Regions from separate parts of the Homo sapiens genome. Here region 1 is linked to region 2. Evidence: promoter capture Hi-C in 16 types of primary human blood cells and fetal thymus (Javierre and others, 2016). All regions are on one chromosome and are shown on one strand. The core of a region is centred on a gene start or on the middle of the fragment in contact, and the rest is flanking DNA. Distances in the headings are between cores, read along the strand shown. Region 1 has its middle 150 kb from the start of SLC24A2. Region 2 holds the start of HACD4 (3-hydroxyacyl-CoA dehydratase 4).

Region 1 (6,060 bases), core at 3,343-5,842, 1.1 Mb after region 2:
TAGAGGGTTAACAACAGAGGAAGTCATATTTCCTAGTCATTGAAGTGTTAAAATAGGAAAAGAGACCTGGAGACTTATAGGTCTAGGTGAGTGTTAGTGTCTTACCTAACTAATAACATTAGAAATGTGAAGCAGAAGGAGACTATTCCAGAGTCCATAGTCAACTTTTTAATTTAAACATTTTAATAAACCATACCTCTATTAATCACCATGAAATTTCTCTTTCAAACTGAAAGGAAGTGTCACAGTATTGGGAAGACAAATGGTAGTTAAAACTATTGTCCATGTAAGTTAAATGGGGCTGTAAAAAATGTCTATCCAGTTTAGAATATCTTTCAGTTTTCTCAGACTTTTCTTTTGGGAAATAGTATATTAAAGAACCTATCAATTCAACCTTTAATATTGAGTTTCTATATCATGTTTTTTGAAATGAATGTCCAACAGTGGGCAACTGGCTAGATAACCTAAATATACACCAAAATGATGGGTTATACAGACTTTTAAAAAGATTTTCTGCAAGAATATCTAATGGTATGGGAAGACAGACACTGGTATTAAAGGAAATCACAGTCTATAAGAGTACTATAAAATATTATTTCATTTTTAATCTATACAGTATAGAAAAGACTCACTAATAGTTAATGCTATTAATAAATGCAATATTGTTATTTCTATTCTGTACTGTTTTTATACTGTTCTGTTTTCTTCTTTTCATGTATTTTCATTTTTAATAAACATATTGCTTTTGTAATAAGCAAACCACAATTGTTAGTGTAAAAGTTATATTTGACTTTCTGTGCAATATTATCTAATTGCTGAAGTACCAGAAATACAACATTTCACCTATAAGGCTGTCCCCAACCATATACATCCTGAAGACAGCATTAGAACACAGCTTTGCTATCCAGAGAGAAGCACAGGAAATGTGTATATGTAAATATAGTTGTGTTCATAATAGCACTTCGTTTGCATAGACACAAATATCATAAACAAAATATCTGTCTCTCAATTATTAGGATACATAGATATATTTCAACAGACAACATTGATTAGCTGTAATCCGGGTGTTCATTAGAAAGTATAGTTTTAAACTCATTTTCAGCTGATAATTTTCAATAGCTCAGTTGAGAGAAATTCTATTTGAAATTTTTAAAGTTAAAAGTAACAATTCTGCTAGTACAAAACTGCATGTATCTTTCAAGATATTCCAAAATCTATCCCTATATCAAGCAAGGAGCTGAGTTCTCATGGAATTATTTATCTAAGTTGCACTTGAGTGTGACACCAGCAATCTGGGTTGAGAATTCTAAGGGAAAAAACAAAACGTGAAAACCATTATTCTGTACATTTCAAAGACATTGTTGAGGATGTTAATCATCTCTCCATGCCTTCTTTAGGAAGACCCCTGGAAGAAATTTCATTCTGATATTTTAATAGCAAGGAGCAGCCAAAATTCTCCCAGTTGGTCTGTTTTCATCTTGTGGATATTATACATGGACTGACCAGGGGTCCCTCTATAATTGCTCTGGCACAGCTCAGAGCCAAATGTGTGGCCCAGCTGCAGCAAATGTGTGAATCAATGCGGTATGTGTTTTTAGGCCTAATTCTTGACTCAATTTTATGTTCCTACCATATTTTCCTTTCTCCTGACTTTTTGGTTTTTGCTTAAAAAAAATCCACTAAAGTAATACATATGTGTGGGAACATACGAGTGAGGACAGAAGAATTTAAGGTCTGAAAAGCAGCAGCCTCTACCTCTCTGCTCTCTGCCTCCACCCCATCCCACTCCCCAGATTCAACCTCTTTTAACTGTTTGTTTTTGGTTCTTTTAGCAATTACCTCCATAAATCTAGATAAGAGGCTTAACCTCTTTTTCCCCATTTATCATCTTGAGATAATATCTCTAGACACCTTAATATGAAAAGGGGAGGATTTAGCTCATTTAATGTAAGTTTCCTCCTCCACCTCCAAATGTTTTATATTTGCATTATTACTTTTAGTTCTTCTACAGTTCATACCATTGCAACTTTAAATAATATATAAACCTGTTAATCAGAGGCTCCCACTCCAGCTTTCTAATTGTTTGTACTATTGTAAGTTGTCTCATTTTACAAAGTGAAGAGGCTGAGCGCCTGTAATCCTAGCACTTTGGGAGGCTGAGGCAGGTGGATCGCTTGAGCACGCGAGTTTGAGAACAGCCTGGGCAACATGATGAATCCTCGTTTCTGCAAAAAATACAAAAATTAGCCAAGCATGGTGGTGTACACTTGTAGTCACAGCTACTCTGGAGGCTGAAGAAGGAGGATGGCTTGAGCCTGGGAGGTCAAGGCTGCAGTGAGCCCTGATCATGTCACCCTACTCCAGCCTGGGAACAGAAGGAGACTGTGTCTCAAATAATAATAATAGTAATAAATCGAAGATAACTAACAACACAAATTCAAGAAGAATGAGGTCAGCAAGTCTTCATGATGAATACGAAAGTAAATAGTTAAGGAGTCCCGAAAAATATAAAGGATGGTAATACAGGCTAAGTAGGCCTCTGGTATCACGGTGGGCTCTAAGGTTTATTATGGTGGCAGCCTCGTTTATGGTTAAATTTAACATTTGAGCTTAAGCTGATGCTTGAACAAGTTGCAGACATGTACCCTCATACTCAAGTGAATTTCTTTCAAAACTCTTTGTGATTAAAGCCTTAAGTTTCAAAATTTGTCCTTCCTAAATATTTTAAGGCACTTATTAAATCTTCCTTCTTTCCTTTAGAGAAGCTTTTTCTCCTCGTCTCCTGTTGCTTCTCATGTGGAGATTGCTTCGAGGGCTCAGGGTAATGGATTGGGTTGACTTCAGTCAGTGGGATGAGGTTTACAGGTCTATCTCAGTGAACACCTCACCATGTTTTAACTTGGTGGTTCCCTTCCCTATGAGTTCCTCACACTAGGACACACATCAGACACGTGGGGGACCTGGCAGAAGAGCATTCCTGACAGCTCTGGTAAAGGCAACGTCAGTGGCAGCCAAGGAACCTACCCTCCTATGCCATTCAGCACCAGCCACGCTTTGGACAGACAAGAAGCCTCGTCCTGAGGACACACACAAGGGCTGCTAATCAGGCAGCCACTCAGCTTGCACCCCAGGACAGGTGAATGAGTAGGGTGGTGATTGAATGAGGAATCAGGTGGCAGCTTTGTTTTGTTTATTTTTCTCAAACAAGACATTAGTTTATATTATCTACCCACTCCCTTTCAACCCTGCTGCTCTTAAGTGCTGGGTTTTTTTTGTTTTGTTTGTTTATTTGTTTTGTTTTTTGGTTTCAGTTCTTTCAGATCCTCTTCAGCAGCAAGGACTTTGTGCCTACCAGAGGCTCTTAAACTTTAGTATGCTTAACAATCATCCAGCAAAGTTGTTAAAAAATATACATTTTTATGCTAGAACCCCCCTGTCTTTAACACACACACCCCACCCCCCAATCCCGATTTCCAATATAGTAGGTCAGGCTGGAAGCTGGGGGATCTATTTTTCACAAGCAACCCAAGTGATGCAAACGCAGGCACAATATTGAGAAATATTTTCCACCCATCCTGCCCCGTGACTAAAGGGAGAACCAACAACAGCACCAAAATATAAAATAAAATAAAATAAAATAAATAAATAAAATAAAAATAAGTGGTAGTGGGCCCCCACAGAAAGAAATCGATTCCTCCTTTCCCACGAGGAAAACAAAGTTCCAGAGGCGCCAAGACGCCCATATCTCAAGGCCATGAGACCCCTGCCAGCTCTCCCGCCTCCAAAACTCCAATTTAAAATCTTTCTCTTCCACCACTCACCGCTCCTCCTTTCCCTGGAGGAGAAGACAGAAACGGACTCGCCACGCTTGCCCTCCCCGCCACGCCCCGCTCGGTTCGTTACTCTGTAGAGGCTGGCGACCAGCAAAAGAGAAAGTTCCCGAGCTTTACAACTCTCCGGGAAGCGTAGGGAACGTTTCCTCTCGGAAAGCTCTTCGCCGCGATTTTCCCAGGGCTGCACTTGAATGAAACCCCCAAAGGAAATTACCACTTAAATGAGGCAGGAGGTGCTGGCTGCCTGTTTGGCCTCTGCTGTGCACGCTGCCTGGCAGGCAGCGCAGGAGGCTCCGGAGCCCCGCCATGGGCGCGCACGGTGCACGGGGGCCGGAACGGGGGTGCGCGGGGACCTGGGAGCTGCAATGGGGGCCAGGATTTGCTTGGGGTCCTTGTGGTGCGCGGGAGCCCGGGGGTGCGCGGGGGTCCGGGATACACTCTCACACCGGTGCAGGGCATGTGTCTCGGCCCATGGAGGCCGCTTTGGAAAACCGACGCTGAGACATGAAGCCACCTGTTTGCTTCCTGCCAAATCCTTCACTGGCCTGTTGGGAAGGGGACGGATAAAATGATGGGCCTGCTTTGAGGCCCGGCCACCCCGTCTTGGAAACTGCCCTAATAAGTGCAGAGACCTCTCAGAGAGCCAGGCTGTAGGCGTCATAAAAGCAAGAACAAGATCTGTTTTAGTTTGCTCTGAAAATCTGTTTTAAAATTAAGGTATAATTCAGATACTATAAAATTCGCCCTTTTAAAGTGTACTATTCAGTGGTTTTCAGTATACTTAGGAGGTTGAGTAGCCATCACAACTAAGTCCAGAACATTTTCATCACCCCAAAAAAGAAAGCCCTCTGCTCATTAGCAGTCACGCCCCCATTATTCCTTTCCTGCATACCCCTAGCATACCATTAATCTACTTTCTGCCTCTATGGATTTGCCTGTTTGGGGAATCTCACATAAATGGAATCATACTACATGTGGCTTTTGTGCCTGGCATCTTTCACTTAGGATAAAGTTTTCAGGTTATTCCCATGGTCGCATGCACCAGGACTTTATTCCTTTGTATTGTGAAACAATATTGCATTGTATGGATATACCACATTTCGTTTATCCATTCATCAGTTGATGAACATTTGGGTTGTTTCTACTTTTTGGCTATTATAAGTAATGCTGCTACGAAGATGCATGTACAAGTGTTTAAACAGACATGTGTTTTATTTCTTTTTAATATGTATGTAGGAGTAGTATTGCTGGGTCCTGTGGTAACTGTGGAATCTTTTGAAAGGATCTGTTTTTACCTGTACAGTTGATAGCCCACCCCCGGCGCGTTCTTTGACAAGTAGATGAATGAATTGAATGGATGAATGAATGAATGAATGAATGAATGGAACTAAGAATCAAATAAATGAGATTATGAGCTTTTGAGTGTGAAAGCATTTTATACTTTATTAAGAGCAATACAAGTGGGATTTACTGCTATTCTTAAGTGATGATATCAGAAGTTCTTAACTTGTGATCTAAGGAAGAGCTACAGGACACCTGTGAATCCCAGAAGTTGTATATAGAATTGTTTGAGTATGTGTGCAAGTACCGTTGCTTTTAGATCAGGCAAGAGGGGTACCTTAGCATGCCTTACTCTGGCTGTGCCCCTCTCTACAGGACATGATGTTCCAGAGGTCCAAGCAAAGTGCCCACTATAAGCCTGCTTCCTCCTTTTTTGGCCCATGGTTCTGCTCCTAGAACCTGGGAATTTTCTACCTAAAGAGCTCAAGCCTCTTCCCCAAGTCCATCCTCCCCGCAGCCCCCACCTCCTGCCCCAGGGCTGGGAAGGCCAAGGATGAGAAGGCCACCACTTTCCAGAGAAAAATTCCAAGGAGTCCAACAATTCTATATTTGAACTTGGCCTTCCAGCCTTAGGTTCCTTTGAAGGACTTAAAAGGGTGAAACCAGTGATGACGGGGGAATCTGAGAGTATTATGGACAGAGTAGGACGGGGTGAGATGAGGAAAAACCTGTGGCATAAGGTGTATGGCTCTCCCTTTGTACGCTTGTCCCAGGCCTTATAACTGATAGGAAAGGACCTATGCACATGTATATTTTTTCAAAGAGAGGGTATTGTAGGTGTCAGACTCACAGTGGCCTGCAAAGTCTGAAACACAGTGGCAAGAGTTGAAAACTAAAGACAGCACCAGACTAGAAGTCAGAAGTTCTGAGTTCTAGCCCTCTTCTT
Region 2 (6,890 bases), core at 2,037-4,536:
ATAACTGTGTGCTTTTGGCAAAAGAAACTTCATTTTTAAAGGTTAAAAGTTGTCAAATTCTCACTGTTAGTGAGAGAGAAGCCTCTGAGAATCTATAATCTAGTTAAATAGTCAAGTACCTTGACAACAACAATACCCTAAGATAAATACCAACATAGACATACGTTAGCCTATGTGACTCCCAGAGGGGATCTTTGGGAAGGCTTTTAAAGAATGAATAGAATTTTGACAGGTAAGTACTGGGCTGTGATAAGGGGAGGAGGTAGAATAGAAAAAGTAGACGGGAAATTTTTCACAGAGGCACATTGGCCAGAGAATGCCTGGTGTGGTCATGGAACAGCAGGTTGCTGTGATTTTTGGTAAGGGGATAGGATGGTAGGAGATGTCAGCATGTGACAGGTTTAGGGGCAAGAAGAGATATACTGTAGCAGGCAACGGGGAGTCAGCAAAAGATTTAGACCAGGAGAATGGCTACATCAGAACTGTGTTTTAAGAAATATTTTTGCCATCCTTAAATAATCTATGGCAGTCTGGGTAGAAGGAGGAAAGAGATTGGAGGCAGGGAGGCTGGGGGAGGCCATCTTGATAATGCTGGCAGGACGTGGGCAGGACTGGGAACTGACCAGGGGAAAGGGAGAATTTCACTTTTCATACAAAATGTTCTCTCCTAAGCTCTTTTTGTACTCTTTCCTTGGGAAATAACGTAGAATCAGCTAACTGCTTGATTTGAAAGGATTTTTTATTTTTCGACTGATTGGCTTGTTCTTTTTTGGCAACTAAAAAGGGCCTCTTTTTGTGCAGCAGAAAGATATAACCCAAGACGCTCCAGAAAGTCAACTGAGTTATGATGTAAAGAATGGATGTGAGGGAGGCCAATTACTCCTCACCCAGGTACTGGAAAATAAGGAATGGACAAAGAACACTACTGATTAGTAGGAGATCTGGAAAGGATGGGATCAATCGAATTTGATTGGATGGGGTGCTTAATGATGACTCCCCAATTTAAAATCAAGTGGCTAGAAAAATGGTGGTCTTTCTGTGGGAAATAATGATTTAGGAAGAGAGATAGTATGCTTATTTTAAATAGGTTGAATTGGAAGACGTTCCAAAGATAGTCCAAACAATAGGACTTTCATGAGGAAATATCCAAAAGCTGCTCAAAGGCCAGAGATAGTATTCATAAAAGAAGAAAGGGCTGAAAATAATAGTCAAAAGTTGTCCACATGGAGATAAAGCCATGTGTGGTTGTCTATGCTGAGGGATAACATGGTGACAAATGGATGGTGACTAAGGGCAGACTTTTGAGGAAATACAGCAGGAGAAGAAGACCCATCCAGAGAGACAGAAGGGACATAAGGCAAGAGACGTAGAATATGTAGAACTTCAGGGGTAAATGGCAGACAGACAGAACTGGTAAAATGCAGCAGACCTGTCAATGAGGATGTGGATGCAGGGGCTGTGTTTGGTGACAAAGGATCAATTCTTCTGGGCAGGCTTTCCACCTTCTCCCTCCTGCCCCACTGCAGGCCATCTGGGACTTTACTTTCTCTCTTGCTGCTTAACCTGATCAGAGATAGCATTGATAATGGGTTAGCCACCAGTTTACCCTTTAGATCAAATGTTCTGTAAAAGCAAGGACCGTGGGGCATCATCCTGCAAGGTGATACAGGATAGGGATTCGGCGAAAAATTAACATGCTCGCGGACGGAGCAGTGTCAGGAGAGTCAAACTGTAAGGTATTATGGAACAGGAAGATGGTAGGAAATGAAAGAAGCACCTGATCAGAGAAGGCAGGCAGGGAGTTATTAGAAGATTCCATTGAGAGAGAAACAGAAAGAATACAATGTTTAATTATATGCTAAGAGAGAGTTGTCTATGTCCCTAAAGTGCAGTGAAAGCCAATGGAAAGGAGGGGATGACGATGCAAGAAGAGGCGATGGTTAACTACTGATGCAGTGAGTCTGAGAAGGGACTGGTAAACACAAAGTTGGGGTTAACCTCCGACTGAGGGCAGGGTATGAGAGAAGGTGCAGAGAAATGTAGAGGTGAGAGGTAGGCATAGTGAATGGAATGGACTATGAAAAAAGGAAGCCACGGCCTAATGGGAAACAAACAAGAAATCCCACCAACCTTGAAGTTCTGATACTGCCATTTTATCAATTGTGTGACCTGTGCCAAGTGACTTAACATTTTTTTAATGCCTCAACTTCCCTTTTGGTAAAAATGGGGGCGCTAACTTCCAACTCCAAAACCAGGTGCCATTGTCCCACTTACTTGCAAGTGCCTTCTTAGATGTTTCTGTTTTTGTTTTAACGTTTCCCTTTCTGGGCAGAGGAGCTTGAAGATGGGCTGGATCTTATTAGCAAAGCAGGAGGGTGGGTCATCTGTGTACGGAGACAGTGATGTCATAAGCCTGAGAGATCACGAAGGGGTTGTAGCAGTGCTGGGCATAGGCTAGAGAAATTAACACAACGTGAATAAAGATTTGCAGGCACCAGTGAGAACCCAAGGGAGATTAGAGAGCAGGGAGGCCTGATAGAAGAGGAATCAGGCCCCTAGCTGAAAAAGTGTTGGGGAGGTGTGCTACAAACTTCGTTTTATTTTTATTTATTTTTTGAGACAGGATCTCGCTCTGTTACCCAGGCTGGAGTGTAGCCGCGTGATCTTGGCTCATTGCAGCCTCGACCTCCCAGGCTCAAGCGATCCTCCCACCTCAGCCTCTGGAGTAGCTGGGACCACAGGCCCGCGTCACCATGCCCGACTAATTTTTGTACATTTAGTAGAGACGCGTTTTCGCTATGTTGCCCAGGCTGGTCTCGAACTCCTGGGCTCAAAAGATCCTCCCGCCTCGGCCTCCCAAAGTGCTGGGATTATAGGCATTAGCCACTGCGCCCGGCACAAGCTTCGTGTCTGAACCTGGCTCACCGGTGGGCATTGAGCAGAGCCCACCCTGGAATCCACTCATCTCGGGAGGTTTGGGGATGGGCTTCAGCGAGTTCGGAGGCCCCGGAAATCGCCCAGATGCATTAATTTCCAGAAGGCTTGCAAGGGGGTCTCAACACAAAGATTAGGAAGCTGTAACCAGAGTTTGGTAACCCCACCGGGAACGCGAGCCGCCTCCCAGCCTTGCGCCCTGACGCGCTCTAGCAGTGCTGCAGAAACTTCGAGAACTTCGTTTTCATCTCTTCCCCAACGCACGACCTCGGGCTTTTTCTTTTTGTAAACTGCTGAGTGTGGAGAGGCCCCGCCCTTCCGCGCCCAGCCGCGGGGCCGCCCCTGCCTCCTCCCCGGTACTCCTTCCTGGACCGCGCTGGAAGCCCTGGCGGCGGCGGCCCATGGGGCCCTTGGCGCTGCCCGCCTGGCTGCAGCCCAGGTAGGGCGCTCGGCCGAATCCCGAGGGGAGGGGGCGCGGGTGGAGGGCCTGGAGGCGGGAGCTCCCCTCTGCGGCGGGCGGGCGGGCGGCACCCCCCGCCCGCCAGCAAGGCGCAGCGCTACCGTGCCCAGGCACCCCTTGGAGCTCATGCAGGTATTTGCTAACTTACCCCTCTTGACCACCCTAGGAAGCAGGCTCTGTTATTTTCTCCATTTTACAGTTGAATGGGAAGGACAGGCTGCATGGCTACCCCTGCCCTTGTGAGCCCTCTGCCAGTACTTCCCTCCCCCCAGGAGCCTTCTCTTGACTTTCTCAGACGCAGAGTTGCGGGGTGATTTTTAGATGTAACAGCCGTGGAAACACCTATCACACGTATAGATTTCAGGGCCTAGTTCCGGCGGGGAACAGATTCAGTCATATAGCGGTAGGGCCTGGGGGTGTATATGTTTAACCCACAAGCCAGGTAATTCTGATACAAGCTGAAGGAGGATTTCCTCTTCCCAAACCCTTTAGCAGTTCCTGCCTTTATAGGGGAGGATGTCCCCAAATAAAAATCATTCTGCCTCCCAGCTTATTTTCCTTGTTTCTAGGAGGTTTCACATCTTCAAGGAGGAGTAAATCTTGACCACACTGGCAGGGCCACTCCCGTCACTCTTCTGAACTCCCAGGGAACATTTCAAACAGTGCTTTTCCTAACTCCCTCAAACCATCTATCTGTCAATCTTCTCTTAGTCATCTCCCCAGCAACTCACAACACATTGTTAAACCCAGCTTGACTTCCCTCTTCTGGTATGAGCAACTAAACTGCTTTCGATATGTATCTGATGAAGGAAACTATCTACCCTTGCAAAATGTTAATAGGCAGTGGCAAGATGTTAATACTAACCTCAATCACATAATGTGTTCAAAAGTCAGGTGTGTCCAATTACTGAATTACCCAACATTTGGATTACTCCCATCCCTACCCCCCTTCAGAACTAAAACACTGTGTCTCAAGTTCTGCACTTAGCAAGCTGAGCTACTGGAACACATAGTGACATGTCAACCACTCTGCACACATGGATTTTTTGTTGTTGTTGTTGTTTTGTTTTTTATTTTTTATTTATTTTTGAGAACAGAGTTTTGATCTGTCGCCCAGGCTGGAGTGCAGTGGCGCTGTCTCGGTTCACTGCAGCCTCTACCTCCCAGGTTCAAGTGATTGTCCTGCCTCAGCCTCCTGAGCAGCTAGGTAGCTGGGATTACAGGCATACGTTACCACATCCGGCTTTTTTTTTTTTTTTTTTGTAAGTTGCCATGTTGGCCAGGCTGGTCTTGAACTTCTGGCCTCAAGTGATCCAACCCGCCTTGGCCTCCCAAAGTGCTGGGATTACATGCCTGAGCCACCGCGCCCAGCCTGTTTTGTTTTTTTAAAGAATATTCAAAGCCACCTTCGCAGTGGTTTCTTTTATTCCTTGGTGAGCAGCAAGGTTAGAACTTTATCAAAGATGAAAGCAGATTTTGAAAAAGCACTATATTTGGTTTTAAGCAAACTCACTATACAGATGGTCCATGACTCACAATTTTTTAAACTTTGTGATGGTGTGAAAATGATATGTATTCATTAGAAACCGTACTTCAAATTTTGGATTTTAATCTTTCCCCAGGCTAGCGATGTGCAGGTATGATATCCTTTCATGATGCTGGGCCGCGGCATCAGGCCGCAGCTCCCAGTCGGCCGCATGATCAGGAAGGTAAACAACCGGTACTCCACAGTGCACTGTGTTGCCAGATGATTCCACCCAACTGTAAGCTAATGTAGGTGTTCTGAGCAAGTTTAAGGTAGACTAGGCTAAGCTGTGATGTTCTGTAGATCAGTTGTATTACATGCATTTTCAACTTATGATATTTTCAGTTTATGATATTTTCAGCTGATGGGGTGTACCAGGACGTAACTTCATCATAAGTGAAGAAGCATCTGTATTTACTTTAGCGGGTAGTGTAGGTTATGGCTCCCTTCAAAATCTGATATGTACTTGGGGGTAACCAGATAAAAGACTGATATGAAACAGTTTTCTTTTGCTTTCTCAGGTTGGCCAGTACATTAAAGGGCATGTGTACAGTGATGAAAGGATGATTATAAAAGAAGTGTTTAATGGTATTTTCCTGTATTTATAGGTATAGGAAGAATGCGTATCTTTTCATCTATTACTTAATCCAGTTCTGTGGCCACTCTTGGATATTTACAAATATGACAGTCAGATTCTTTTCATTTGGAAAAGGTAAAACTCCGAAACAGTTTTTTTATTTTTAACTTTTAATCCTTGTTTTCACCTCATCCTGCTTATATTAAATTTCTACACACCTCAACCTTCTAATATCCTTCTCTAAAATTTGTATTTTTTAGCAACCATGTTTATTGCAAAACCTTCTTGGGGAAGGGGGAAGGTGGGATAAGTAAGGGAAAGGGATTTGGCTTCCCCCTGAGTTGGCAGTTTGCCTCAAAAAAGAGATGGATGGCACTGAGGTGGTATCATTTCATTGTTCCTTTTCCATTCTGTACCAAACCTTAGCAGATTTCTAGTGTTTTGAGGAAATCTCAGCATAACATTTTATGCAGAGAAATCAGGAATGAATCAAATTCTTCCAGTGTTTGTATTATTCCCCAGGTTTGAGGTAACTGGAGACTACTAGTAAGTGAAATACAAATTTTATATTCCCCAAGCCTCTATTTGGTCCCTTTAAGAAGTAATATGTAAATGACACACTTTGTAGAGGGCTAACCACTTATATAGGAGTCAGCATTAATGGTTTAAGTCATAAACTTCCTCTAGTTTCCTGAAAAGTAAAGTCACTGTTGGGTGACTAAATGACTATCAAAATAACATTCTCTTCATGTTCCATCCGCACGTGGGTAAGTGTCCTCACAGTTTACAACTGTTGAGTGACTTGACAATCTAAGCAACTGCTGGCTTCAGCTAAAAACAAATGTTTAGAATGTAGCTGGGAAAAGTCATGCTGTGCTCATCATTTCAGACGTGTGTATCATAAGGAAGTTATTCTACTTGCAGGGTCCCATAAGCTATTTTATGTTGCTTTTTCTTACTGAAAATCTACAGATATAGTCTCGCCTTTGTTAAGGACCTCCAAAGATATAACCTAAAGCTTGAGTTTCAACTACAAATGTTGAGAGTTTTCAAGCACAGGAAAACACAGGTGATGGGAAAACTTCTTTTATATTTTTATTAAAAAGCCATCACTTCTAGCCCTTTGAGGTTTGCTGAGGCAGTGCAGGCATATTACATGTCATTGGCAACACAAGCCATGGACTGGCTTATGCTGTCTCACCTTTCCAGTGAGAAAAGTTGCCTTAGTCATCAAGTATTTCTTTTTCTTTTCTTTCTTTTTTTTTCTTTTCTTTTTTCTTTTTTTTTTTTTTTTGAGATGGAGTTTCCCTCTTGTCGCCCAGGCTGGAGTGCAATGGTACGATGTCACCTCACTGCAACCTCTGTCTCCCAGGTTCAAGTGATTCTCCTGCCTC

What was found. The method cuts DNA at HindIII sites, captures the fragments that hold promoters and counts their contacts. A CHiCAGO score of 5 or more calls a contact.
Region 1: a fragment that was not itself captured here is called in contact with the fragment with the promoter of HACD4 in region 2 in 7 of 17 cell types (monocytes, M1 macrophages, activated CD4 T cells and 4 more); the score reaches 7.5 in monocytes.

The regions. Positions count from the first base shown.
Region 1 is chr9:19,932,624-19,938,683 of GRCh38, reverse strand. It overlaps a transcript of SLC24A2 not described here. Among named protein-coding and RNA genes, the nearest start is that of SLC24A2, 150 kb to the right of the region's middle. The HindIII fragment of the contact is 3,650 bases long and covers 2,768-6,060 here.
Region 2 is chr9:21,028,036-21,034,925 of GRCh38, reverse strand. HACD4 (3-hydroxyacyl-CoA dehydratase 4) reads left to right here and starts at 3,286. Exons shown (of 7, transcript NM_001010915.5): 1 at 3,286-3,373; 2 at 5,528-5,631. The coding sequence starts at 3,336. LOC105375989 (a long non-coding RNA gene) reads right to left here and starts at 3,284. Exons shown (of 3, transcript XR_007061435.1): 1 at 2,926-3,284; 2 at 2,275-2,454; 3 at 1,007-1,563. RefSeq lists an enhancer at 2,947-3,507 and a silencer at 3,151-3,510. The HindIII fragment of the contact is 3,612 bases long and covers 2,905-6,516 here.